Regions from separate parts of the Homo sapiens genome. Here regions 1, 2, 3, 4 and 5 are each linked to region 6. Evidence: promoter capture Hi-C in human tissues and cell types (Jung and others, 2019). All regions are on one chromosome and are shown on one strand. Each heading gives the region's core, a stretch centred on a gene start or on the middle of the fragment in contact. The rest is flanking DNA. Distances are from core to core; before and after follow the strand shown.

Region 1 (4,590 bases), core at 192-2,691, 220 kb after region 6:
TTTACATTTTACATTTTAGCATTTAATTTTACATTTAAATTTTAGCAATTTTAAAATGCTCTTGAGTTCACTTTCTTCTAAAAATCAAATAAATTCTATTTTCACATATTTGTTGTGAGAACAATTAAAACTACTCTTGGCAATTTTCAAGTATATAATACCTTGTTATTAACTATAATCACCATGTTGTACAAGAGATCTCTTGAACTTATTTCTCCTAATTAAAATGTTGCATCCTTTGATCATCTTCTAGACCCTTTCTCCACAACTCTGCCCCAGCCCCCAGCAACCACTAGTCTACTCTCTGCTTCTATGAGTTTGACTTTCTTGGATTCCACATATGAGTGACATCACGTGATATTTGTCTTTCTGTGCATGGCTTATTTCACTTAGTATAATGTCCTCCAGATTCTATCTTAATGAAGATGTATATCTTCCAGCATATCAACAATTTAAAAAATCATATGATAAGATTTTAAGAGCTAAAAAGCCATGTGACAAATAATTTTTAAAGTTAAAGAAAAAGTGTAGACAACAACATTACATGACAAAAGACTATAAGTAGATTGCAAAGTTATAATTTGTTATTTCCATAATGATCAAGGATACAATAAATTTTCTACATATATATGAACTCAGTGTAAGACCGTGATTTAAAGAAAGTGATTTGTTTTTAAATTCAACCTCTTAGTTGTAGTTTTTGAAGCATTTTATTTAGATAAATCCAGGCTGAGATGAACACAATGCCTAAAATAATTGTTAAATGATGTAACCTCAGGAGTGCTAATTCATTTTAAAACATAGCTATTTCATTATTTTTACTCTTTATATATAACTGGCTCTACTAATGAGAATTGCTAAATAAATGAATTATACTTATGAATAGGCTATGTTTCATTTATATACCAACTTGCATGCTTTCCACTTGAAATGGCTATTTCAGCCAAATGGTCAAAGACACTGAAGCAAGGGTCATCTTGTCATTCCTCCTGTCCTTTGTCATTTCTGAAGCTGACTCAGTAACCCTATGAGATCACCAATGCACATTAATAATCCTGACCCACCTTCTTCTCAGAGCAGTGTCTGCTTTGGGAAGATAAAAAAGGTAGGCTGCAGTTTTATTAATATGTTTGAAACCTCTTTGCTCCTCTCAAATGTTCTTCCTCAGATAAAGAGGTTACACAATGACCAGGTTTGGATTTGCATCCAAGAAGGTGATGGAGCTTATTTTACTCCTTTGTCAACACAAAAATGAAAGCAAAGCTACTCTTCATATGTGATGAATTCCAGAAACAACTACGTTATCAAAACTCCTTGAAAAAGTTACTTCCCTTCACATAAATGAAGTACATTTATTCTTATTCTCCTAGCATATTTCGCAACATGGCTTACAATATGAATTTCAACAAAACCCAAGAGGATGTGTGTTCCATCTTGGGATGGAAGGTTGAATAATGAGTTTGAACTGATGTTCTGTCCCTAGCAGCGAGAGAGGCAAGAAAAAAATCATAATCCTGGTGAGCAGCAGACAGTGACAAGAAAAAATAAGAAGGAATATCAGAATAAAACCAGAACCTGAAGAGGATGCTCCAGCATAGATACATTGGTACCTCAGTCCCAACCTCTCTCATCAAGGCCATAGGAGCCCTACTGGCACAAACCATCTGCCAAGCAATGGAAATACTCACTCTTTCAAATGGGAGGTGGAAAAATGTGAGTTTACAGGAAAAATCATTTTTTGACCCATTTCCAGAGTGTGCCAAGTTTGAAACCCTAAATGAAACTTCTATAGAAACATCCTTTTTCATAGTGATGAGCTTGTGAATGATTCTAGTATTAGATATTAAGAAATGAACATTTTCATTGAGTTTATCCTACGTATTGAAGCACAATAAGCTTCCATAAAAAATTTTGCAACAAATTTCTTTTTTCAGTTCATGTTTATGTTATAAGTTAGATATTAATTTTTTTTGAAACAGAGTCTTTCTCTGTCACCCAGGCTGCAGTGGAGTGGTGCTATCATGGATCACTGCAGCCATGACCTCTGGGCTCATGCCATCCTCTTACCTCAGCCTCCTCAGTGGCTGAGACTACAGGTGTGTGCCAATATGCCTGGATAATTTTTTGTATTTTTTGTAGAGACAAGGTTTCACCATGTTGCCAGACTGGTCTTGAACCCCTGGGCTCAAATGATCTGCCTGCCTTGGCCTCCCAAAATGTTGGGATTACAGATATAAGCCACTGTGCTTGGCATAGATATTAAATATTTTTAAATGAAGAATAATAAATACACTTTAATAAAGAATATCAGTAGTACAGATGATTCAAACAGAAAAATATCTTTTCCTGAATATATTTTGCCTAGAAAAAATATTGTTTTAAATTCCACCTCCCTCCAATAAATTCCCTTTGCCAAAATCATGTAATAATGATATCATACATGGTATTGGGAAAAGGATTTCAAAACTGTGACAAGTCAGACATAAATATTTTAACTACAAAGACTTGAGTTTTGTCTGCAGAGAATACCACTCATTTTAATGTTTGAAATACAATTGCCTCACTCCCAGCGGGAACCCTTACCATGTAATATAAGAAACCAGGTTCAGTCTTGCTCACAGTTGAATTCCTACAATGAAGTTGAGCACTTCAAGGGGAGACTGGCATAGGTCATTAAATCTAACCCAGCAAATAGTAATTAATAGAAACAAAAGAAGAATATGCCACAAAGAGAAAAATTATATTATGTAATAAAACTTAAGACTAACCTGAGGGTTGAATTATGTTAGAAAACCCAGAGGAAAACAGCAACATAGAAAACAACTCTGATTTGAACTGACTAGGTAATTTTAAGTTTTAAATTAAACTGCTTAGCAGCCTTCATCTCTATCCATGTTTACTTTGAAATTACTGATCCCCAAGTATTATATGAAATATTGCAGAACTAGTGATACACAGATGTTTTATCACCATAAAATCTTGTTTCTAAGGATATTCAATATACTCACTGGAGGTGCTGATACTTGAGTTATTCTCAGTTGGTTTTCCAAATCTTGTACTTTATTTTTAAGTTCCATATTTTCTGTTTCTAAGTCTTGGATCTAAAAAGAAAATCATTATTGAATAACTTTCTGTTTTTTTTTTCTTGGAAAATATTGGCTACAGTTATGAGTAGGAATTTATATTACGTAAAACTTTAATGTACTTTGTTGTGCGTGGGGAGAAAATTGTTTGATAAAGCTTGGGAAATGCTGGAGGATTCTAGATCATTGAAAGACTTAAATTTATAATATATTTTTATGTGTGTGCAAATTTTATGTTCCTAATATCTCAACATTGTGTTTTCTTGTTGGACTGTGCAATCTATACCCATAATCTTGGAATATAACCACAAGACAGTGAAACTTGCTTATGATGATTTTGAAGAGTGGAGAAAGGCATAATTTAATTACCAAGGAATCTGATCTGCATGGAAAACCACTTACCCAGCATCTGCTGCTTCTGCTGCTCTGATCCCCATGAGAAGCATCAGGAAGTGAAGCAAAGTCACATGAGAACACTAAGTTCTTGTGGGAATTCAATATAAAATAGTTAAAAAAAAAAAACTGTGCAGGGGATCAGGAACGAAAAATTATGGGAACACGGTGAAAGCAGTTCCAATCAGTCAGTGTGGGTGAAATTTAATGGCAGGGCTTCTAAATTTGTTTGACGATATGCAAGTTTCCCTGTACTTACATCACACAAATGTAAAACAACAAGCTTAGTTTACTCACTCTTTTTTGTAACCCTGCGATCTGTTTTCTTGTTTCAACATCTTTTCCTCCTGATTCTAGAAATTTCCTGTATGCCAGGTCAAATGCTTGGCCAATTGTTAAAGTGATCTCTTCAGCCTGTGTAAAAATCAAACAAAGATTTGCATTTTAATAATATGTCAAACTGTTTTTGAATCGAGAAAACAACATTCATATAAGCACTTACTCCAAGACATTCACAAGAGGTACTTCAAAAGGGCAACAGTTGGGAGTAGAGATGTATTAAATGAGCAAGGTAGTAGGCTAATGTAATAACTCAACACCTACCCAGGCACAACATTGAAAAAACAAGCGGACTTGGGGGTGGGTATTACTGAATAGCTGTTGAAGTGGGAAAGTTGGAAGCAAGAGTTCTTTATGTCAAACTTCTCATCTCTTTTATTGTATTGTTTTTTCCTACTTGTTTTTCTCCCTTTCTCAAATATTTAGTGCCTATGAAATGAAAGCAGAGTGCCAAATGTAGTTTCTCTCCTTGCTTTGCTATTTATTTCCTTTTCCTTGTGAGGAGGGTTTGTTAAACCCTAAGCAGGTAACTTGAATGAGGCTGGCCAGGTGGTGTCTCTGGAAAACTTGAGGTATGCCCTCTAAATGGAACACCTGCTACTCTGTCCCAGTTAATTGTTGCCTGGTGGAAGTGAGCAATTCCAATCTGAAACTGTCAGATCTTATGTATGAAAGATGAGGCCAGAAGTCTGAAATTTTATATGAGAGCTCCCAATTTTAAGCGATGGTAAACAGTTTGTATTTTGGTAAAACACAGTGCCAGTGATCAAAATAT
Region 2 (4,565 bases), core at 1-2,500, 200 kb before region 6:
TGCCAAAAGATGTGGTATGTATTCACTAATTATCTTGTTTATCGTGTCTTTCTGTAGATTTAGACGTTAGATATCCTACAGAAGCATTTTCTTGTGGGATGCACAAATCTTTCCACTGTGTTCAATGTTAGTTCCCCCCAATTTTTCCTATTATGCGCTTACTTAAGCTATTATTTCTAAGCAGTAGCTACATCATTACAAACATAGGATCATAGGCTGTTTGAGGCCAAAAGAGTCTCGAGATCATATAATACACCTTCTCATTTTGAGCAAAAAAATGAAGTCAAATTATTTTTCAAACACTTAATGATACAAGTAAAATTCATATCCCCTGGATTCTGGTTAATATGACTAAAAGATTCACTCAAAAATAAACATCTCCATAGAAAATAAACCAAAAAATAGTAGAAAGGCTCATATGCTTATTAGATTTCTTTGAAGCTTTTTTTAAATTCTAAGTTCCAGGTCTAGAGTTAGGTTCTGTTTGGTTACTAGAATAAGAATAACTTAGACAATATACTTTGGTTCTTGTTGAATTGCTTTTTGAAATGCACTTTTTAACCTCACAAAAATTTGTGTAATATATTTTCTCGTTTCACCTAATTCCATGCAACAGAAATTTTGTCATATTTATTTGTTTGGTTGTTTTACCTGCAGATTTATTTGGCTGCCATGCTTCAGGAGAAGCAAGGTGTGCTCTGAAGTATTAGCAAGAGCAGTTTCATAGGCAGAAATAATCCTGTTCAATAGGAATACTAACAGTTCTTCAACTTCTTTTTGTCTAAACTTTTAGAGGCTTTGACATTGGTATTAGTAGGAGAATAAAGTATGGATACAGTACTAACTAAATTATTTAGGTTAATTTTTTTTGTTAAGTTCATAGTTCACTTCTTAAACATAATGTGTATGCTATATATCTGCTGAGAAATTAGCAAATTTTCCAAGGATATAGTAGCAATGACATTAGCATTATGAGGAAAAATGAATACTTATAAAGTACTTAGAATAGTGCCTAATACATAGAAGCACTAAATAAGGATTTATTAAATACACTGAATCAGAGAACAGATACAAAGAACTCATAATAGTGAGACGTAATATCGAGTAAAGAAAGAAGATGAACTAGATAGTTTTATGAGGGAATTTTTTAAGTACCGTAATTGTTATACCTGAGGACCAGTAGGGCATGATTCACAGATTCCAGGGGGGCCAGGAGAACCAGGGGACCCTGGTTGTCCTGGAATACCAGGGTCACCATTTCTCCCAGGAATACCAGGAGGGCCCTAAAAAAGAGATAAAAATAAATTAAATAGTGAAAAATCCTGGTGATTCACAATCATTATCAGATTGTTGTTTCTCTACTTTATAATATTAGGAAACAATATAAGTAATATATTTTCTTTATAACACATACTTTTTAATCAAAATCTTGTGAATAATTTAAGTATAATGTATTCCTTTGTATATTGACCTACACATTTTCTTTAAACTGATCATGGGGGTGAAGACATAATATGAAGTTTGGGAAATTGAAATCTTTACACGTACAATTATGGATTCTCAGTCTGTTGTTTGGTGCCATTATTCAAATATGTGGTAATGAAGAGAATGTATGATGAAAGCTCAAATCTAGAAAAAGCAAACTCTTACTAGAATTATCATTAGTATTAATTTTATTCTACTGAAGAATGTTTACTTACTGGATCTCCCTTGGGGCCTTGAGGTCCTTGACCATTAGGAGGGCGAGTAGGCTAATAAATGGAAAAGAAACAAGTTAAACAAGACACAGAATTTGCATATTATTTAGTAACCCAGATTCTAACCAATCCTTATCTTTAAATTGAAACGGTCACTTTTTACTCGTAATACAAACATGGCTATTTGATGAACATGACTTTCATTCCCTTTTAGGCTCCTATGATATAGGAGCTATTCATGTGTCTAAATATGAATATTGAAGATGTACAGTTTATCTTTAAACTCACAGCAGTTGGAGGCTGTGGGCAAACTGCACAACATTCTCCAAATGGAATTTCTGGGTTGGGGCAGTCTAATTCTTGATCGTCACATATTATGTCATCGCAGAGAACGGATCCTGAGTCACAGACACATATTTGGCATGGTTCTGGCTTCCAGACATCTCTATCCGCATAGGACTGACCAAGATGGGAACATCCTCCTTCAACAGCTGAAAAACAAGTTAGATGACGTGAAGTTTCCTTAGGTTTTGCTGAAAGGTGATTTTTGTTACTCTGTTAGGACTATTAACAATAGCCAAAGTTGAAAAGGTTTGAAACAAATAATTTCTTCCTTTCATTAGAAAATTATACTTGCCCTATGTAATTTGCTAAGTAGCAAGAAATTAATTAAAATATCATATCTGCTTGTTAACATAAAATTGGCACACCATAGTCAATTTTCCTTAAGACCAGCAGATATTTTAATTTCATTTATAGTAAGAATTAACATCAATGTATATCACACAAGCATTTAAACATTTATTTATTAAAGGAACATTGAAAATAAGCTCTTCTACCCAATTGCTATTCTTTGCCTTAACAGCAGATGGGAGCATTAAACTAAAGAGATGATTTTGTCACTAACTCTGAAGACTTTCTGGATTTTATCAACCTAGTTGAGAAATTCAGGGGAAAACTGAGCTAATCTTGGCAGCATAAAACTCTACCAGATTTTCCTGGGAAAGTTTTAACAGAACTTATTATGTGTATTGAATGTCACTGTTAGCTCTATTTGGCATTAGTAGCTCAACATGATATGACATAATATATTGTATATCCCATATGGATGTAAAGACATTTCCAAATCACCAAAAAGAAAAGAAAAAGATGTTTTTAAAATAAACATTGGCAAGGAATAAGTAAAAATAATAGGGAAAATATGAATCATAACCATCTGTATTTGTGGCTTAAAATGGTAAAAAAAATTGCTTCAACCAAAATTTTAGACTTGCTTCATAATTATATACAAGGTACTGAAATTTCAGCAGCTATTAACTATGAATCAGCTTAGGAATTGCCAAAACAAAACCTGGTCTCAATTCTTAAGGCATTAGCTGTGTATTGTGGTTAAATACAACTTTAGTTCTTGACAATTAGTATGATAGTTTGCCAGTAATTGAGTAAATAAATAATAAGTTTCTAAGCATCTGCAAAAATTTTTGCAAACAACAAATGATGTACTGTTCAGTAATTTATATTTTTGTGAGATGGTGAAATTTTTATTTTCTCAAAGCCAAGATATTTAAAATGTCTATTGAAAGAGGCCTGCTACCGAGTAGGCAAGTAGTTCAAAATTAGTTTTTGCCGCCTAGTGGTCAAGAGGCCTTTTAGTGGTCCTAAGATTTTTCCATCTGGGCACTACATGCAGCCACAAAAGATCACCTTTTCGAGGTCCCGTTGCTATATCATCTCTCTGTCTAGGGTAATAATAATTTAGGTTTGTGTTTAAATGAGTTGAAATGTTTAGCTGATTTAGTAAATGTTCACCAAAAAGAATTTCAAAACCTAGACTCTAGAAAGTACTGCAATTGCTTCCCCACCTCATTTCCATTTATGTGTTCTGATACAAATTTAATGATATTGTACAAGACACTTGATCTACTCAAGAAGTTTTAAAAATCCATTCTTTTTTATGTTACAATTTCTCAATGTAGTTTACAGCTAACGAAGGAAAGCTTCATTTTTTAATTGCAATTTTAAGTAGGCAAATAATTTGTTTATTTAGAAAATTTATTCTAATTCCTCCCCTATGTCTGAAACACATATATGAGAACATGGGATATATTTTCTATATACATTTCCTAAGCTTTTAAAACAGCATTTCTTAATTCTTAGTGAATATAAAAGCTGAATACCAAAATGCTTATCTCAGTGGAAATGAAGTAGGCCTATTTGAATGGTGTTACGGAAAATATATTTAATAGAAGAGCAAACAGTCATTTACACATTGGTGTGAAGAGTAATAACAGGTGAGTCTATGCATTAAACTCATTTTGTTCTCTAGACAGAACTGGCGTTTCATATTTAAGTACTAAGTTCACCAGTCTGCAGAAAAGGTCCGAAAATTTGGGTTTGGAAGATTGTGCAGTAAAATTACATGGAACACTGTAATTACATTGGTTCCTTTTCTCAAAATGAACCACTTAAAAATTTTCTCCAAATCAACTTTATATGAAATATTCCTACAGATTAGTTTCAGCCCAAGATTTTCCCATTAATAATGTGTATTTTAAGCCCTCCAGATCCATCCTCAAAAGCATTGTTAGATTGTACAGATGATTCTTTTAGCTCATTGCCTCTGGATCAGGCATATCTTTTCACACTTAATACAGCACGTGGATTATGAAAAACAGCCATTGAATACTAAAGGCATATTAAAGACAAATGAAGATAATAGTTAAAGCTAGGCTCAAACATTTCCTATTTTAAGTATCTTCTATATGTTCTTGATCTGCCTAGAAATTAACATAAATACTTTTCCCTCCTGTGTATTCATCCTCCTATGTTTATGTCTCATTAAGGGTGTCCTCACATCATTAGAAATAC
Region 3 (4,610 bases), core at 1,323-3,822, 140 kb before region 6:
ACATAGTTAAATTCTGAAAAAGGAATTCAAATTTGTAGTCTCCAAATGGATAAACTGTGGGAGCTGGGGATAAATAACAACTCGGAGTTATAAACTATATGCTCTTTGAAATAAATGGCATATTGAATGTTGCCTTGGATAGTCAAAACATTTCAGAGTTTAAAATGGCTTACTAGGAAATTTACCCATAAAATAATTGTTGTTTATTAGTTTTCCAAATGCATTTAAAAAATGAATATAATGAATATACATTTTAGGTTCAACAAGTTTGTGCTTGTTCTAATCCAAGCCAAACTTGGATTTCATGTTGCCATTAGCTCTTGAAATAGTTAACATAGAAACATACTCATCTATAGCTCCACATACTCACATGTATATAATTGATTTCTTTACAGACTGTAGCTAATTTTCTTAAAACACACAAAAGAGAAAAGTACACAGGGTAGAAAAAGTAGGTTTAGTGACAAAAAGTAGATATTAGCATATAAGATATTTTTGGTTTTAACTTTCTCTTTTAGCTATTTGAGCTTGGGCAAGTCATTTAATCACTTTGCCTCAAATTCCTCATTTGTAAAATGGAGAATAGCAATAACATCTATATCAAAAGATTATTGTGAAAACTAAGTTCATATATATATACACACATATATATACATATATACATGTATATATATATACATGTATATATGTATATATATGTATATATATGTGTTTGTGTGTATATATATATATTTTATATATATAATATATATATATATATATGAACAGGTCCTGACATAAAGTTAACTAAAGGCCGGACAAACCTCAGTTATTGTTATCAAATGTATTATCTTTCTTTTTTTTTGAGATGGAGTTTTGCTCTTGTTTCCAGGCTGGAGTGCAATGACGCGATCTCGGCTCACCACAACCTTCACCGTCTGGGTTCGAGCAATTCTCCTGCCTCAGCCTCCCGAGTAGCTGGGATTACAGGCATGAGCCACCATGCCCAGCTAATTTTGTATTTTTAGTAGAGACAGGGTTTCTCCATGTTGGTCAGGCTGGTCTTGAACTCGAGACCTCTGGTGATCCGCCCGCCTTGGCCTCCCAAAGTGCTAGGATTATAGGTGTGAGCCACCATGCCCGGCCATCAAATGTATTATCTTATACTCATTAGATTGTTATGAGCAGTGTATTTTACACATTTCTATCCATACATCCTGTATATCAAGGGCTTAATCTACTACAAACCAACTTTTAAAACACTTTATTAATGGTTTGTTCCATGTCTTCGCAGTATCTCAACTGGCATTATCCGTTTTCACCTTTGCTTTACTCTTACTCATACTATTATCCCCTTCAGCTGTGCCTTTCTCTCCTGTTCTGTATGTGTCTGGGAATCATTAATTATCCAAAGGCAAGATTAAGTTTACAGGTTATTTTTAGTTATATAAGAAAAAGGTGATATCATCTCCTTGGAACTTGTATAACATTTATTACATTCTTGAAATTAAAGAACTGTTTGATTGGAGCATTGTTTACTGTTAGCTAATTAGGACCAGAATGTTCACTTTAATATAAGCAATGTCAAACCAAAGTTCTTATTTATTGGCTGATATTTTTTGAAGGATTGAGGGACATGATTTAATAACTTTATTCCCAGCTCAGTTCTGATTATCTGATAGTTTCAAAATTAACTTTGGCTCAGTTTAATTTTCCACTTACCTTTATAGACGTATAGTTATAACACAACTATAGTAACATTCCAGAAAATTATTTTTGAGTAAAATCTTCTGTGGAAAGCTTAGTTACATTGTAATTGTTCAATTGCAGAGATTTGTTTTTGTACCTACGTCTCCCACCTATTAGTAAGTGTGATTTTTCTGTTATTTCAGTAGGAAGAGATAAGGCAAATTTTAGTTTGTAAATCAGAGAGATGGAGAAAATAAATATGAGTGTTTTATTTATTTATTTATTTATTTATTTGAGACGGAGTCTCACTCTGTCGCCCAGGCTGGAGCGCAGTGGCATGATCTAAGCTCACTGCAAGCTCCGCCTCCCGGGTTCATGCCATTCTCCTGCCTCAGCCTCCGGTGTAGCTGGGACTACAGGCACCCGCCACCACGTCTGGTTAATTTTTTTGTATTTTTAGTAGAGACGGGGTTTCACCGTGTTAGCCAGGATGGTCTCTATCTCCTGACCTCGTGATCTGCGAGACTCAGCCTCCCAAAGTGCTGGGATTACAGGCGTGAACCACCGCGCCCGGCCAATATGAAGTCTTTATTAGAGCTGATGACCACTGGGCAAAGTCTGTTCTTGGAAGCAGCTATCTCTATTGTTTGCACAGGTAATCAATTTTAGAGCTTGTGATCTCACCCTTCTTTTGCCTCAGGGATCCAGTGGTAGCCTTCCTTAGACTGGCTACTGGCCTTAAATGTGGACTGGTGGAATAAAGTGAGCTTATCCAGCCAGGTTCTCTCTCTTACAACACTGAGTCAGAAGTATGGAAATGATTTGCCAATTGAGAAAAAGATCAGAACTCAAAAAACTGCCATACATGTGAATCATATTATGACAAAATGAAGCTAAAATTTTTAGAAGTCAGAGAAAATTGTTGTTAAGAAATGCATGAAGAGAAAAATCCTGCAGTTTATGAAAGAGAAACAAAATGGTTGCTAAAATTCCCTGGGTTCTTGCTGCCATTCTAGGTCCCATTTGCAGTTCTTTCCCCTTCCCTTCCATCTCTAACAGTTTCTTTTTTTTTTTTTTTTTTTTTTTTTTGAGACAAGACTGTTTCCAGACTGGAGTGCAGTGGCACGATATCTCGGCTCACTGCAACTTCTGCCTCCCAGGTCTAACAGCTTTAAGGAGATTATTTATGTATTTTTACTTTTTCACAACAGTATGTATACATTTTTTATATAAGGTGTAAGATGCCTAGGTAGGAGCAGCAGATAGTATCCATATATTACACTAGCGGCCACTAACCTGAGGAAATGAAGATTTAGAAGGAAATTTCATAGTTGTGAGAATTATTTAACACAGAAATACATTGGGAAAGGGTTTTCTGGAATGGCTTAGAAATGGAATCATTTATACTTGGAGGGATAAATTAGATTTATGTTTGCCCAAAGAAAGTTTGAAATGCCATATCAAAGCTCTTCCACGAAAAATATACTTTATTTATCTTTTAAATGATAGTTTTCTGTGTAGTATGCATTTACAACTATTAAACTTACATTTAAAAATGAGGCCAGCTTGGTTAGCATTAGCTTTTTGATTTTCGTGCAACAAATTATTGCAAACTTAGTGGCTTGAAACAACATCCACTAATTAGTTTAAAATTTGATCATTTAGAAGTTTGGTATAGTGGGTATAGTGTGCTGGGTTTTCTGCTCAGAGTATCACAAGGCTAAAATCTACATGTTGAATGGTTTAGTTCTCATCTGGAGATTCAGTGGAAATACTACTTTTTTTCTTTTCTTTTTTTTTTTTTTTTTGAGACAGGATATCACTTTGTCGCCCAGGCTGGAGTACATTGGCACTATCTCAGCTTACCGCAACCTCCACTTCCTGGGTTCAAGTGATTCTCATGCCTCAGCCTCCTGAGTAGCTGGGATTACAAGCATGTGCCACCCTGCCTGGATAAGTTTTGCGTTTTCAGTAGAGATGGGGTTTCACCATGTTGGTCAGGCTGGTCTCGAACTCATGGCTTCAAGAATCCTCTTGTCTCAGCCTCCCAAAGAGTAGGGATTATAGGTGTGAGCCACTGTGCCTGGCCTCAGTGAAAATATTACTTCTAAGCTTATGCTTATTTCCTGCAGTTGTAGGGTTGAGGTTCTCATTCTCTTGTTCACTATCAATTGAGAACTGCTCTCAGCTCCTAAAGGTCACTCTTGTTCTTTGGCAAGTAAAGTCTGCCATCTTCAAATCAACAATGGCATGTAAAATCCTTCCTGAATTTCAAATTCTTGTTGTTCTCTTCTATAATCAGCCATAAGAAACTCTTGGCTTTTGAGGACTCTTACAATTAGGTCAGGACCACTTAAATAATCTCTGTTTTAGAGTCAACTGTGCCATAGCATAATCTAATCATGGGAATACTATCTATTTTATTCACATTCTCAGATATTAGAATAGGACATTTGGAGAATAATTTTAGAATTCATCGCTCTGCATTCTGGTCAACAAAGGTGCCATATTAGAGGACCAGCCAATGATATCACATTGCAGGAATCATAGTTCACAGGTTTACCAGGTTTGAGTCCCTAGCCAGCTTCCTCACAGAGCCTTTGTGGTTTAGCTAAGTCTTTCTCACATCTGGAGACAATTTCAAGTCAGTGATAAAGTGAAGAGGGCACATCTGTACACATCCAACCCCAGCTGTTGAGCAGCAACTCCACCAAGCCTTTGTGCTCTATTTAAGCCTATCCGAGGCAGAAAAGCAAGCCCAAGTTCATCATATATACAGAGCATTGCCTCTCACCCTGCCCACTTTGTGTGGCTAAGTAGCAACCTGAGATACCTTACCTAGCCTCAGATCCCAGCACATGACTCTGCCCAACTATAGATTCCAAATAACAGTGTCTCCTAACCAGGGAGGACAACCTGCAGCCCTTCTTGGTCACAGAATA
Region 4 (4,435 bases), core at 748-3,247, 180 kb before region 6:
AATGTCCGTTTTAGAAGCATTGTTTTGTATTTCTTTATGTACTTATTTTACTCCTCTTTGTAACCTTTTTTGTTTCCTACCCTCACCCACTTTTAAAAATCATGAACAGTAGTAAACACAGTCCCTTGTACATAATGAATACTGATCAATGTAACGAAGACTGACTGAATTAGGATGGCATTAAATAGTATTTAAAATATTACGTGTTTAATAATATAAGCATTTCTTAAAAAAATCAATATAGGACCCAGACCATGGATCAGTTTCTGCTCTTCACCTCTTTATTTTATAGATATCAGATATATTTCATAAAGTGATTAAGGTGAAACATATGACTCATGAAAATAAACTAGTCCAAGTAGAAAGTCTTCACATAAAAATTATGCCATATTGATTATTCAAAGTGCTAACCTTTGGATAATAATACTAAATAGATTAATATAATTTGATTTCTATTATTTCATGTCCAGCCACTCTCTCTATTTCTCAACCCAAACCCAGCAGGATACAAAACACTATTTTAGATAATTCTTGATATGCAATTCATCTTGATCCAAGAACTATCTTCTTAGTAAATCAAATGGCTCTTTTTTTTTTTTTTTTCCAATACCTACTCTACATTTCTGGGTTTCTATACCTTTGCATATACTGTCTTTCTGTCTAAAATGATTGTTCCTCATTCTGTATGTTCAAATCCTATTTTGAAGATTCTACCCAAAGATCAACTAATCTACAAAATCTTTCTGATCCTCCCTGTTAAAATCATTTTGCTCTTCTTCTAATTTACCTTACCTTTCCTATGCCTCTTAGTTTATTTTAATTTACATCTTTTTATGTCGTTTACTAGGCTGAAAGCTACTCCAGGGAAAAACTAAGGTTTATCTTTCATTTTATACTCCATCGTAGCTATTACATGGCCTTGTGCATAGTAGGAAATTAATAAGAATCAAATGGCGAATGATTTAAAATATGAAACACTTAATCCAGAAAAACACATTTGAAGTAATCTATTTCCTTTGTATCCTTTAGAACTCATGGTAATTTTCAATAAGTTAATTATTTCCAGTATTTCCATCACTCTTAAAAAAGAAGGTCACTCTTTCCAGCATAGGAAGTCTTTGGATTTATAATCGATTTAAAAAACTTCCAGATGTTATGAATTTATTTATAAAATAGAAAAAATAAACAATAGAACTAGTTAGGAAATAAATTGAAAGCAGTCAAACTCTGTGTTCACCACAAGTATTACAAGTCAGAGACCATTAGAAAAATTTATAAAATAGAAAGAAATACAGGTAATTTACCAAGGATCATGAAAGAGAATGACAGAAAAGCCAAAAGTTAATTTCAAAATGAATTGAAATAATTGAACTAGAAATGCATCATAATTTTAATTTATTTTTATTTTAGGGTAAAAAGAAAAAAAATGACATATAAATAAGCATCATGAAATTAAAATGCTTCAAAGAGGAATTATCACACTTTTTGTTTAAATTGTTTTCATTTTTCTTGACTCAATTTCCTTACAGTGAAATTTTTAAAAGGAAAAAACTGTGCAAAATGTCAAATAAAAAAAGAAAAAATACAAATCAAAATACTGAAAATTCCTTACCTTCCCACAAATACAGACACCCCACATGTAATGTAAGACAAATGTCTAAAGCTTTATATTTTATTGCTTGATTTATTAGCTTCAATTCCCATGAGAATTGTGGGAACTTCAATCTGTTTAGTTGAGCATGCTAAGGAGACATACAAGGCAGGTAATAGTATTCTAGAGTGGTCCCTTTATGTGTAGAAATTGTAATCTATTTTTTGGTTGTTCAGGGCAAGGTTAGCTGCAAAGTGGACAACCACATTGACCTAGATTCAGCATCAGGGGTGTGTCGCCATGGATTGTATCCTGGTGCCCAGCTAAAACAGTCACTTCTAAAATTTTAGTTAGGGTGTGGCTGGCGGTGTTAGATCAACAGCTGAAGGCTAGCTGTTGGAGGTAATGTGTGATCAAACTGGGTAGGATTGTGTGAGATTTCCCTGACCCTTCCCATTTCCTAACTTGAAGTTGTGCAAGTGACATACTTTTTATGGAGAGGAAGGGGAGAAAAAAAGTACATTCGCTGGTTATTTGTTATGATGACTAACTAGAAAGAAATAAGTAGCTAAAATAAGGCTCTTGAATTATTTTATGATACCAATATTTCCCATTCAAAATATGATCGAGAACTGTTTGATCTTTTGTTATCACATAGATTTAGAGGTGAAAAAAGATACATCTTGGAAGATTTCATCGAAATTAACATCAAGCTGAAGAAGATAATTTTATAGCTGCACTTTTTGCTATAGCAAACACCAGGGCAAAATATGGCCAGACAGTCAACTGGGACAGCATGACACATCACTGGAAAAAATGATTGTTGAGTACAAAATTACGAGAAAAGTAAAATCATTGTTGAAGCCACGTTAGCATACTCTGCTCAAATTATATCTGATTCTCTAGACACGTCTTTTGGAAGATTCCCCAAAACAAAAGCAGAGGAATTACATAAATGGTTTTACAGGCCAACCTTTCTGATTTAGTGTGCTGTAAGTTGCTTACAATGTTTCTCCAAGTAGGGGATCCAGGAAAATTCCTAGGGGTTGTGGATTTTGGAATTTCACCAAGTCCTTAATGATTGCAGCCCACTAGTTAGCAAAATCCTTCCTAGCTGTTATTAAGAAGAAAGTATGACAAGGCAACCAGAGGAAACAACAGCAGCAGTGATAGCCAGTCAACATCTCCAGTGCCTATATGTACCCATCACGGTGTGTGTCAGCTTTCTTCACTGTTATTCCCACCACTACATTGCTGTAGTTAACTTTTCTTCTGCTTCACTAGAAATAAGGATAATGCTTCTCATTTCTTCTTCTCAAAAGTTTAGAATTTAGGGACAATGGGCACCAAAATTTTGGGTAAAGATATTTTACAATATTAAAGAAGAATACCTAAATATGGATCATATTGAATGGCTGCATTCCAAAAGTGCTTCATTTATGTTCTGATAGTTATAATAATTTGCTCATAATTATTACTTTATGTTTTCTGCAAGACTGGAAGCTCCTCGGGGAAAGAGTTGCGTCTGTTTTGGTGGTCACTGTTTCTTTAGCACCTAGCAAGCAGTCCAAAAGGGCAGACATTTGGTAAGGACCTGTTGACTGATGAGATGCTGAGATTCTAGTCAAATATGGATGATTCAAAGTTTTCTGGCAATATCATTATTTGTCCAATCTATTTTATATAATTTAAGTTTAAATTAACCCCCCCCCCCAATTTTCAACCTTGAGTTGTGGTTTTATAAGAAAATTATCATTTTATAATAAAAGTATCCATGTGTGAAATCTTAGGACATTTTTCTTCATTTTTTTTTAACTTCCAAATTAAAATCCCTGCCAAGTGAAAGAAACACAAGGAAACTCAAATAATTTGCCAGAGTCAAGTTTATTAACATTTTCCCAAAGCCTATCTTATTTGAACTGTTTATTTTGGATCCCTATCCAAGAGATAATTTTTTTTCCCAAAAGCTTATAAGAAAAAGCTTGGCTTGCAAATGTTAGTTTGCATAGATAAAGGCAAAAAATGGGGTTGAGTGAAGAAGAGGAAGAGAGTCTTTCACAATTAAAGTAGTCTCAGAAATGGTTTTTGACTGTGCGATTTAAGTAGTTAGCCCTAAAAAGTGTCATGCAGAGAGCTTCAATCATCTCAAAATAAAATCTGAGAAATATTAAATATCTAATGTCTGATGCAGTTCCTGGCATGTTAGTTGCTCAGCAAATGTGTATCTAATGGTGAATTATGAAATGGGCTACATATGTTGATTTTCTTAGTATAAAAAAGTTGTTATGAAAAAATAATTGTAGTTTTTTTATAATTAAAACAATAAAGCATTTCTGAATAATCATAGCTATACACACACATGTACACATATATAAACTTAGAATAGGGCTCGTGCATACTAGGTACTATACACTCACACACAAACACACTCACATACACACACAGAAAGTACCCTCATCACATTCTTATGAATGTGTACTACTTTCATATGTTTTTTTTAAATGAGTAAACTGATTTGTCTAAGATTACACACTTGGTAAATGCCAGAGCCAAGATGCTAATCCAGGAAGTCTGGTTCTGGAATCCATTCTTTTAATCCCAATATATTGTGTGAATTTAATACCCCTATGCTTTTAAATATGTCAAAACTATATATTCAAATAAGTGGTTTCCTCTTTGATGGAATAATTTTGAGTAACTACATTTTGTTCAATTTTTTCTCAATTACTTATTTGTTCAAAACATATTATTGTCGTGTTCCTATAGGTGGAATCATTGAGGGTAGGCTTAATTGTTTTTAAATGCCAAAAACAATTTGTTGCAAGTTGTGGTTTGACATTGCAT
Region 5 (4,493 bases), core at 1,508-4,007, 140 kb after region 6:
TATCCCATTTTCTTTGGTTTCTATTTTTTAAAGGTAGCACAACATATTGTATTTGGAAAAGAGACATAGTCTTATATTAGTGATATGAGGAAACCAGAAACCGGGGACGGTGTTGTACTAAATATGATAACTTCCCCTCCTGAAGAGGTTTAAGAGATTTACAAAGTATATTACACTTAAGAAAATGCTGAGACACAGGATTGCCCATGTAGCAAAGCCAGAAAAATTAAATTATTTAAAATACACAAAAAAATTCTTTTAGAAACATTTTAAGATGATATACTGTGGGTGAACAGGAAATTTTCCAGATGTGAAAGAAAGATTACATACATTAACTTCCTTAATACATTAACATTTTAATCTACACACCAAAAAAATCTACTGTGAAAGGGTACTGTTATGGATGAGATAACTGAAACATAGGCATCATTTAAGTAGGCGGTACAGAACTGAATTTGAACCTGTATGATAAATATACCACAAGATAGACACTGATCTCTTTTTATAGCATAACTTTGAAATTCCGTGCTGTTAATCCTGGTGTTAGTTTTTAATATCTGAATTATGATTCCTTAAAAAGTCTCATTGTTTTAAACTCTTTGTTGACATTAAACTATGATCTGTTCATCTGTGGAATGACACTTTTCTGCCATAATTTTGCATTTGAATCCACAGCAAACAATTTTTAAAATATTTCCAAACATTTTGAGGAAGCACTTGACATGTAAATGTATGCTTCCAAACACCAGTCCCATCTTAAATTCAATAGATCAAGAATCTTAAATTTATTTGCCTTGATAATCTACATAAATATATAAAACGGAGGTGCACAAAGCCTACTTTTTTGTCAAAGCAAATCAAATATGCACTCCACATTTAATATTCTTCCAATGACTTAAATATAATGTAGAGGCAGGGCACGGCGGCTCATGCCTGTAATCCCAGCACTTTGGGAAGCCGAGGTGGGTGGATCATGAGGTTAGGAGATCGAGACCATCCTGGCTAACATGGTGAAACCCCATCTCTACTAAAAAAAAAAAAATACAAAAAATTACCCAGGCGTAGTGGCGGGCGACTGTAGTCCCACCTACTTGGGAGGCTGAGGCAGGAGAATGGCGTGAACCCGGGAGGCAGAGCTTGCAGTGAGCCGAGATGCGCCACTGCACTCCAGCCTGGGCGAAAGAGAGAGACTCCGTCTCAAAAAATAAATAAATAAAATGTGGAAAGAAGCACATACAGAACATAACCTTTATGTATAGTTACAATTTAAGAATGATGGCGGATTGAAGATATGTTTTGTCTAAAAAAATTAGTTGTTCAACCAATGGCAGTAATCACAAATTTCTCCTTGCTATTTTTTTTCCTCATAAGTGCTATGACCAACTTAAATTAAGGTACTTAAATAGCTACCTAAATACCTAAACAAGCTACCTACATAAACAGTGCTTTATGTATATGAATCTCATCATATGGAAAAAGCATAGCTGGCACAATATCTTTTTATCAGTCAGATTAGCAAGAAGTAATAGAATGTGTTTAGTACCTTTTCCATTCAAATCTGTTCTTCAACTTAAATATAATTATTTTATTGACAATTACTAATACATGGCTCACTGATTCCCAAGCATTATACTAAGTGAGATCTCATAATTATTCTATTAGGTAGGCACCGATATGTCACCTCCATTTCACAATGAGGAAACCAAGACAATGAAGAAACTGAGGTTAGAAAACTTGGCAAAATGATATAGCTATTAAGAAGAAAAGGCAGGACTCTGACCTAGACAGTCTGCTTTCAGAGTCTATTCTCCAAATTACTACTCTGTATTATCCATTTCTACCATCATTTTCTTTTCGTATTTCACATTTTTAAAAAAATAACATTGTCAATTTGTCATTTATAACTACATTAAGTGAACATTAAAAGCATGGTATCATTAAATAAAAATGTATCTTTTGGCTCCATAAATGTCTTCTTTTGAGAAGTGTCTGTTCATGTCCTTCACCCACTTGTTGATGGGGTTGTTTTTTTCTTGTAAATTTGTTGGAGTTCATTGTAGATTCTGGATATTAGCCCTTTGTCAGATGAGTAGACTGCAAAAATTTTCTCCCATTCTGTAGGTTGCCTGTTCAATCTGATGGTAGTTTCTTTTGCTGTGCAGAAGCTCTTTAGTTTAATTAGATCCCATTTGTCAATTGTGGCTTTTGTTGCCATTGCTTTTGGTGTTTTAGACATGAAGTCCTTGCCCATGCCTATGTCCTGAATGGTATTGCCTAGGTTTTCTTCTAGGGTTTTTATGGTTTTAGGTCTAACATTTAAATCTTTAATCCATCTTGAATTAATTTTAGTATAAGGTGTAAGGAAGGGATCCAGTTTCAGCTTTCCACATATGGCTAGCCAGTTTTCCCAGTACCATTTATTAAATAGGGAATCCTTTCCCCATTTCCTGTTTTTGTCAGGTTTGTCAAAGATCAGATAGTTGTAGATATGTGGCATTATTTCTGAGGGCTCTGTTCTGTTCCATTGGTCTATATATCTGTTTTGGTACCAGTACCATGCTGTTTTGGTTACTGTAAAGGCTCATCATCCCTGGCCATCAGAGAAATGCAAATCAAAACCACAATGAGATACCATCTCACACCAGTTAGAATGGCGATCATTAAAAAGTCAGGAAACAACAGGTGCTGGAGAGAATGTGGAGAAATAGGAACACTTTTACACTGTTGGTGGGACTGTAAACTAGTTCAACCATTGTGGAAGTCAGTGTGGCAATTCCTCAGGGATCTAGAACTAGAAATACCATTTGACCCAGCCATCTCATTACTGGGTATATACCCAAAGGATTATAAATCATGCTGCTGTAAGACACATGCACACGTATGTTTATTGCGGCACTATTCACTATTCACAATAGCAAAGACTTGGAACCAACCCAGATGTCCAACAATGATAGACTGGATTAAGAAAATGTGGCACATACACACCATGTAATACTATGCAGCCATAAGAAATGATGAGTTCGTGTCCTTTGTAGAGACATGGATGAAGCTGGAAACCATCATTCTCAGCAAACTATCGCAAGGACAAAAAATCAAACCCCGCATGTTCTCACTCATAGGTGGGAACTGAACAATGAGAACACATGGACACAGGAAGGGGAACATCACACACCGGGGCCTGTTGTGGGGTGGGGGGAGGGGGGAGGGATAGCATTAGCAGATATACCTAATGTTAAATGACGAGTTAATGGGTGCAGCACACCAACATGGCACATGTATGTATATGTAACAAACCTGCACGTTGTGCACATGTACCCTAAAAATTAAAATATATATTAAAAAAATAACAATGTAAGCAATCATTTTGAACTATACAAGCTTTTAATAAGCAGCTTTGCATATACTATTTTTTAATTTGCTAACTTATTTTTCTTTTCTGCCATAAACAAAGAGTCATTTCCGGTATAGTCTTTCTTTACCAAGGTTAATCTCATATTTGTTGGCACCCCTCTTGTATTATTACTTCCTCTACACTATCCTCCCCTGCTTTACTTGTTTTCAAACAATTGTTGTCTTTCCATTATGGGTAAGGCTTTATACCACAATAGATTTTCTTGCTACTAAAGTATTTGAGATCATCAGGATGACTGAATTCACGACCACTTGATGAAATACTCTTGAGGGTTAAAGGAATCTTATTAATTATGACTCCCATTAAAACATATATAGAATAGACTCTCTTGAAAATCTAAATTTATGTTTACTCTAGACATGTAAGATGAGCCTTGAAATAAATACGTCTGATAGACTAAGATGGTAGAGAAGTGTGTTAATCACAAGCTGTAGAGTCATTAAAAGAAGAAAAGCCTAATGTGTGTTTAGGGAAAGTGTAAGAAGCTTAGGACAGCTGGGATAGAGACTCCCAATTCCATGGAAATACATAATAAAGCTACAGAGTGGTTATTCATAGTTTAGAAGACTGTGATCACCAGATTAAGGAATTTGACCTTAATTTAGTAGAAGGTGCAGGGTCATCCAGTGTTTCAGGGCAAGAAATGGTGAACAAAAACATAATGAACCAAAGCTTAAACAAGATTAATCTAATTGGTGATTATAGCTGATGGATCATGGCAAGCAGTTTGAAGATGGATGAGACGCCTCAAGTGTGAAGTAATAAGCTTCATACTTTGTCAAGGGTTTTTTTTTTTTTTTCTTTTTAAGTATGTGCTATAATGAAAAGATTTGATCTGACTGTTTGAGAAATCCAATACTGGAAAATTTAGTGAAACTTAAAAACTTTAGTGATGGATTTCCTGGCAACAATAATTTTTTTCCGAGACTTAGTCCAAAGTTATCTTAATGAACACAGCTGCAAAATCAAAACCTTACAGATTATACCACAATTCCCTAAGATTGCACAGCAGGAAATATAATATATATATTTTCTACTTTTTATACGTGACTTTTAAATGAAGTAGTCAAAACCATTTTTA
Region 6 (4,805 bases), core at 623-3,122:
GCTCAGACAACACTCCCTTTTCCTCAACTCCAACTGTGGAGCCATAGAATTATGAGCAAAGAATATGGTTTTTATTTTAAACAACTAAATTTTGGGGTGGATCACTACACATCAATAGATAAGTGATAGAATTCTTTCAGCTGTTTTGTGCAAATTCTGATTTCTTCTTTGACTCTTGGGTTGATTAGGAGTGCATTGTTTACAAATAATTGGGAGATTTCTAACTTTCTTCCTTTGTAGTCAGGGTTTGTACTATGAATGATTTCTGTTGTTGAAATTTATTCAGACTTGTCTTATGGCTTGAAATATATATTTTTAGTGAATTTTTTTTCTACTTAAAAAGGATATTTATTTTGTAGTTCTTTGGGATAGAGACCTTGTATTTTAATTAGTTCAAGTTTATTGTGTTGTTAAATTATTTTGTATCTTTACTAATTTTGGTCTACCTATTGTAGAGGTGGTATTTACATCTCTGATGATAATTTTACAAGTTTATCGATCATCTCTTTATTTCAATAATATTTTGCTTTATATATTTTAAGAACTGTTATTCCATATAAATATGGAAGTATCAGCCCTGTACTTTTTAGGTAAATGTATAATAGAAAATATTAAGTAAGTTTAATTATTGAGATATAAATACTTCAGTCTGTGCTGTTCTCTCTTTTTCCTGTTCAACTACTAAAATCAAAATAATAATACAATAGTCACTATAAACTGCCAGTCTTCTTTGTGTCACATATTTTATACATTGTTTATAATTATTACATTTAAAAATAGATATTACCCTTCCTATTTCATAACGTAGTCAATTTATGACATGTAATATAAGGTAAACAATGTTACAGGGATTTGAGTGAGCAAAAATTTGTCTGAATCCAGAAGTCTTCTCTCAATGTCCATGACTACAATTAGTTCCATTGTATTTTCCAATGCATGTTTAAATATCTTACATTCAGCCATCATTGACTATTGTTGAAGTTGATTTTTAATCATTTGTTGCCTGAACTTCAGAAATCCTCTTAAGATTAATCATCACCGATTGTCCAGACTGAGCTCTAAATTGCCCATGCCTATCATAGCATGTTTTCCAATTCATCACTTCTTGAACTGTCACAAACTATAGTATTACGAAAAGTGTTGTATTTCATTGTAAATGTGTGAGCTAATATGTTGGGTTTTAATATGTCACTAGTTTTAGCTTGGGGACCAGTTTGGCACACATGTAAAATTTTACACAGATGTGTTAATTCCTCTAAACATTTTAATTTATTCCTAAAGCTTGTATTTGTCCACAATAGATTTTCTCTTAAAACAATGTTTTTAGTATCATGCCAAGTGTTAGCTTTAAGGACAGCCAGAAAAAGAGAAAATAATTATGTAAACTAAATTTCAACAGCATTTCCCTGCCTTTTGAGATCAGTAAGATTGATTCAATGTATTTTCCACTGAGTTCAACCTGTATCTCAAGAATTTTCAAATTTCATCAGAATTTATGATCACTTTCAGCTCTTAAGTCCTGCTTAGTGTGAATCAGTTTAGGGATAATCTAAATGTCCAATATGTATTATTATGTTTTGCATTATATTGTTTTAGATGTGGATCACTATACTTTTTCTTAGTTATGCCAAACTACTTATAGAAACTCTTATATGTGTAAAGGACTACTGAGTTATAGGGGATGTAGAGATTTACACTGCCAAAAGGCTCAAGATGTAATATTCTATGTTAGATATTGATGTTCCTAAAGTTCCCTCTCTCCTTCCAAATCTTGGGCTTCAGATTCCGATCATGTAGGTTAAATCATCTTTTGTTGATTACTCATGTTTTTAGTTTCTCTCTCCAAATTCCTATTGATTTCCAAATACAAAGCAGTTTAGTTGTGTCTCTTGACATGGGCAGAGTTTCTCTTGCCCTTAAAGTCTTACTTTCCACTTCTAAATACCTTCCAAGATGTTTTCCTCCACAAACACAATATCTTCCTTAAAAGATAGACCCTGCATCAGTTGTTAAGCTAACACATCTTTCTCCTCACTACAAATGTATCACTATTGAATTTCTCTCCACAAGTGTGAAGATGGCTGGAGTAGAAATTCTGGCATTGCTTCTCATCACCAGAAGGAAAAATTCAGGTGAGCTCTGTCAAAATGGTGGGTTGGCTATGGCACTCATTTCTCAATCATAAGATTTTAGGCCAGGACAGTCTACTCTATTAACATAGTCTGAAGAAGTGATCTTTCCTTTTACATTTATAGAGTCTTTTCTTACTAGTGATAATAGACATGCTGTAAAGTACCTCATATCCTAAAACCTTTAGTTTTAAGTATACAGCGAACAACTTAATTTAACTTCTATACAGCATAGACAAAATATATGATAAGTGACTATGTCATTTACATTTAATGGATTGGGAAATGTTATTTTATTTAAGGAAAGTTCTTCTGTAAAAATGTGTCTTCTTTGACATTGTTATGTGTCAGCTAACTCACATTTTCAAAGCTGGAGTGCAGATATTTCTGAGTATATATATATATATGTGTATATATATGTGTGTATATATACGTATATATATGTATATATACGTATATATGTGTATATATACGTATATATGTGTATATATACGTATATATGTGTATATATACGTATATATGTGTATATATACGTATATATGTGTATATATATACGTATATATGTATATATACGTATATATGTGTATATATATACGTATATATGTATATATACGTATATATATGTGTGTGTATATATATATATTTGGTTACACATAATACTATTCCTGTCATTTTCTTCAAGAGTTCAAAACTATTGTGGAGTATTTTTATTTTATTGTGTGTACTTCTAAATTCTCACTAGAGTTTTACTCTCATGACAGTCATAAATTGCTGGTTCTTTTTCATGGGAGAGGGTAAGATTTCCACAGGGAATAGCTGCCTTAAAGAAGTATTTTACATATTAAGAGTTCTTAAAGTAATTTTAATTAGTCCCTCCAAAATTATTTTTCCTTGAAGCTGTTTGTTTAGAAAAATTTGGTTCTTGCTTTTTAGCATTAAGCTGTATAGATTTTTAAAATAAACCAAACACATAAACTTTTTTCTCTATCTTTCTTTCTTTGTCCCTTTTATTATGAAATGCATTCTGTGCCTATCCAGCTGTGCTGGCTGTGTGTCAGTAATGTGAGTCACTGACCAATGTTCTCCCACACATGAACAGGAACTAACACAAAGAAAAATAAAAGATACAGCTCTTGGATTTTGCTTACAGCCAAACATTAGGGAAAGGAGGTAATTGTGTTATTTCAATGAAGTTTGATTAGACATATTTCTTTGTATTTGTGAATGACATTGCTATTTTCAGTTAGTTGTAGGAGATTAATGTGATGGAACTGCAATTAGAAGAGAAATGACACTGAGAGATCTTTTAATTATATTTTAGCTAGGAAATCCCTTGACAATATCAGCAAACATTTTTACTAAAATGACATGAAAACAAAACATCAGTGATAAAGTGAAGACTGAATATGGGTTTCTTAAATCCATAAATTCTTACAATAGCCGACCTAATAAATATTCGTCTACTTCTTTCTGTTTTTTCATGTCTTTCTATGTGTTGATTAGAATTACAGGATCTGAGAGCTGGGTATAATCTTATAAGTTATATGGTGAAATATTTTAGAAATAATAGTCCTAATTTTTACAGATAAGAATACCAAGTTCCAATAATCTTAAAAGATTTGGCCATTCCCATACAGATAAATATTGTCAGAATCATCAAGTCTAGCATTTAGTCTCATGATCTTGTCTACTGTGATTTCCAGTACACTCCCTTTATTACTCCCCTCTCTTTTGCTGTAATTATTAGCAAAGATCCTTAACTCAGTGAATTGATGGTGGCTGGCGTTTAGCTATTCCTAACTTGTCTGATAATTAAATAAAATTGTCATTTGACTCATGTCACCAATTTGCACTTGCATTGGAGGTAGATTAAACACCTGGGTTAAACCATATTTATGGTACACAGAAGGTTCTAATTAAAGAGCAATTGCACTTCTCACTGCCAAACAAAAGAGAAACAGATTCACAAACATATTCTCATGCCTCGTAGATGAGAAAGCTTTAATAAAGTCAGTTGGCTGAAACAGTACTTTTGTTTCCCCTGTCTCCCTAAGGAGGAGAAGGGTGAGAAAGAGTCCAAGGGCAAAAGTGAATCTGAGGATGAAGATATGCCACGTTAGCTCTTTGGAAACACACACACACACACACACACACACATTCATTTCAGATCTCAGAAAAGCAACACAGACATAAATCCTATTCTAAAAGTTCAAAAAATTTACCTATCTCTGCAAGAGTCTCCAAACTATAAGTTGAATTTTTCTACTTACTTTAATTACTTTATGAACATTTTTGAAAAAAAGATAGTAATTTTGCTTCTCATAATGTGAGCAATGCTGCCTAGAGGCAGAGCTACTTCTGTGTGAAGAAAGGGGACATAGGTCCGTTATGACGTCTATGTAGTTATGTAAAATCACATATATCCATGATGCATACTTTGTATGTCAATGAGTTTAAATCAATGTAGAATTCTCCTTTGAGAAGAACCTAGCATTCCTGCAAGTGACAGGTATTAAAAACCTTGTTACAAACCCACTTTTTCTGAACATGTTATGAACAGTGAAATGCCTGCTCTTTATCTTGTGAGCTCAGACGATTAAGTATCGTATAAATATTGTTGACCACGTGACTACTGTTATTTTTGACTCTGACTCTGTAGAGCTCAAATGCTAACTC

The links. Contacts are between HindIII fragments. The study calls those that stand out against the background at their distance.
Region 1: a contact is called between a fragment that was not itself captured here and the fragment with the promoter of DIRC1 in region 6, in 2 of the 25 tissues and cell types used here (aorta and mesenchymal stem cells).
Region 2: a fragment that was not itself captured here is called in contact with the fragment with the promoter of DIRC1 in region 6 in 2 of the 25 tissues and cell types used here (bladder and heart left ventricle).
Region 3: a contact is called between a fragment that was not itself captured here and the fragment with the promoter of DIRC1 in region 6, in 2 of the 25 tissues and cell types used here (H1 embryonic stem cells and hippocampus).
Region 4: a contact is called between a fragment that was not itself captured here and the fragment with the promoter of DIRC1 in region 6, in 2 of the 25 tissues and cell types used here (heart left ventricle and mesenchymal stem cells).
Region 5: a fragment that was not itself captured here is called in contact with the fragment with the promoter of DIRC1 in region 6 in 2 of the 25 tissues and cell types used here (IMR-90 fibroblasts and mesenchymal stem cells).

The regions. Positions count from the first base shown.
Region 1 is chr2:188,568,539-188,573,128 of GRCh38, reverse strand. It overlaps GULP1 (GULP PTB domain containing engulfment adaptor 1), which reads right to left. Exons shown (of 12, transcript NM_016315.4): 8 at 3,774-3,890; 9 at 3,009-3,101. Among named protein-coding and RNA genes, the nearest start is that of DIRC1, 220 kb to the left of the region's middle. The HindIII fragment of the contact is 4,118 bases long and covers 1-3,500 here.
Region 2 is chr2:188,982,383-188,986,947 of GRCh38, reverse strand. It overlaps COL3A1 (collagen type III alpha 1 chain), which reads right to left. Exons shown (of 51, transcript NM_000090.4): 2 at 1,986-2,188; 3 at 1,701-1,751; 4 at 1,170-1,283. LOC105373791 (a long non-coding RNA gene) reads left to right here and starts at 2,129. Exons shown (of 3, transcript XR_007087614.1): 1 at 2,129-2,237. The HindIII fragment of the contact is 5,020 bases long and covers 1-3,760 here.
Region 3 is chr2:188,929,431-188,934,040 of GRCh38, reverse strand. No RefSeq gene overlaps it. Among named protein-coding and RNA genes, the nearest start is that of COL3A1, 43 kb to the left of the region's middle. The HindIII fragment of the contact is 3,820 bases long and covers 663-4,482 here.
Region 4 is chr2:188,964,481-188,968,915 of GRCh38, reverse strand. LOC105373791 (a long non-coding RNA gene) reads left to right here. Exons shown (of 3, transcript XR_007087614.1): 3 at 2,250-2,458. Among named protein-coding and RNA genes, the nearest start is that of COL3A1, 7.7 kb to the left of the region's middle. The HindIII fragment of the contact is 5,923 bases long and covers 1-4,435 here.
Region 5 is chr2:188,647,448-188,651,940 of GRCh38, reverse strand. No RefSeq gene overlaps it. Among named protein-coding and RNA genes, the nearest start is that of DIRC1, 140 kb to the left of the region's middle. The HindIII fragment of the contact is 4,565 bases long and covers 475-4,493 here.
Region 6 is chr2:188,787,190-188,791,994 of GRCh38, reverse strand. DIRC1 (disrupted in renal carcinoma 1) reads left to right here and starts at 1,872. Exons shown (of 2, transcript NR_161166.1): 1 at 1,872-2,132. The HindIII fragment of the contact is 6,834 bases long and covers 1-4,805 here.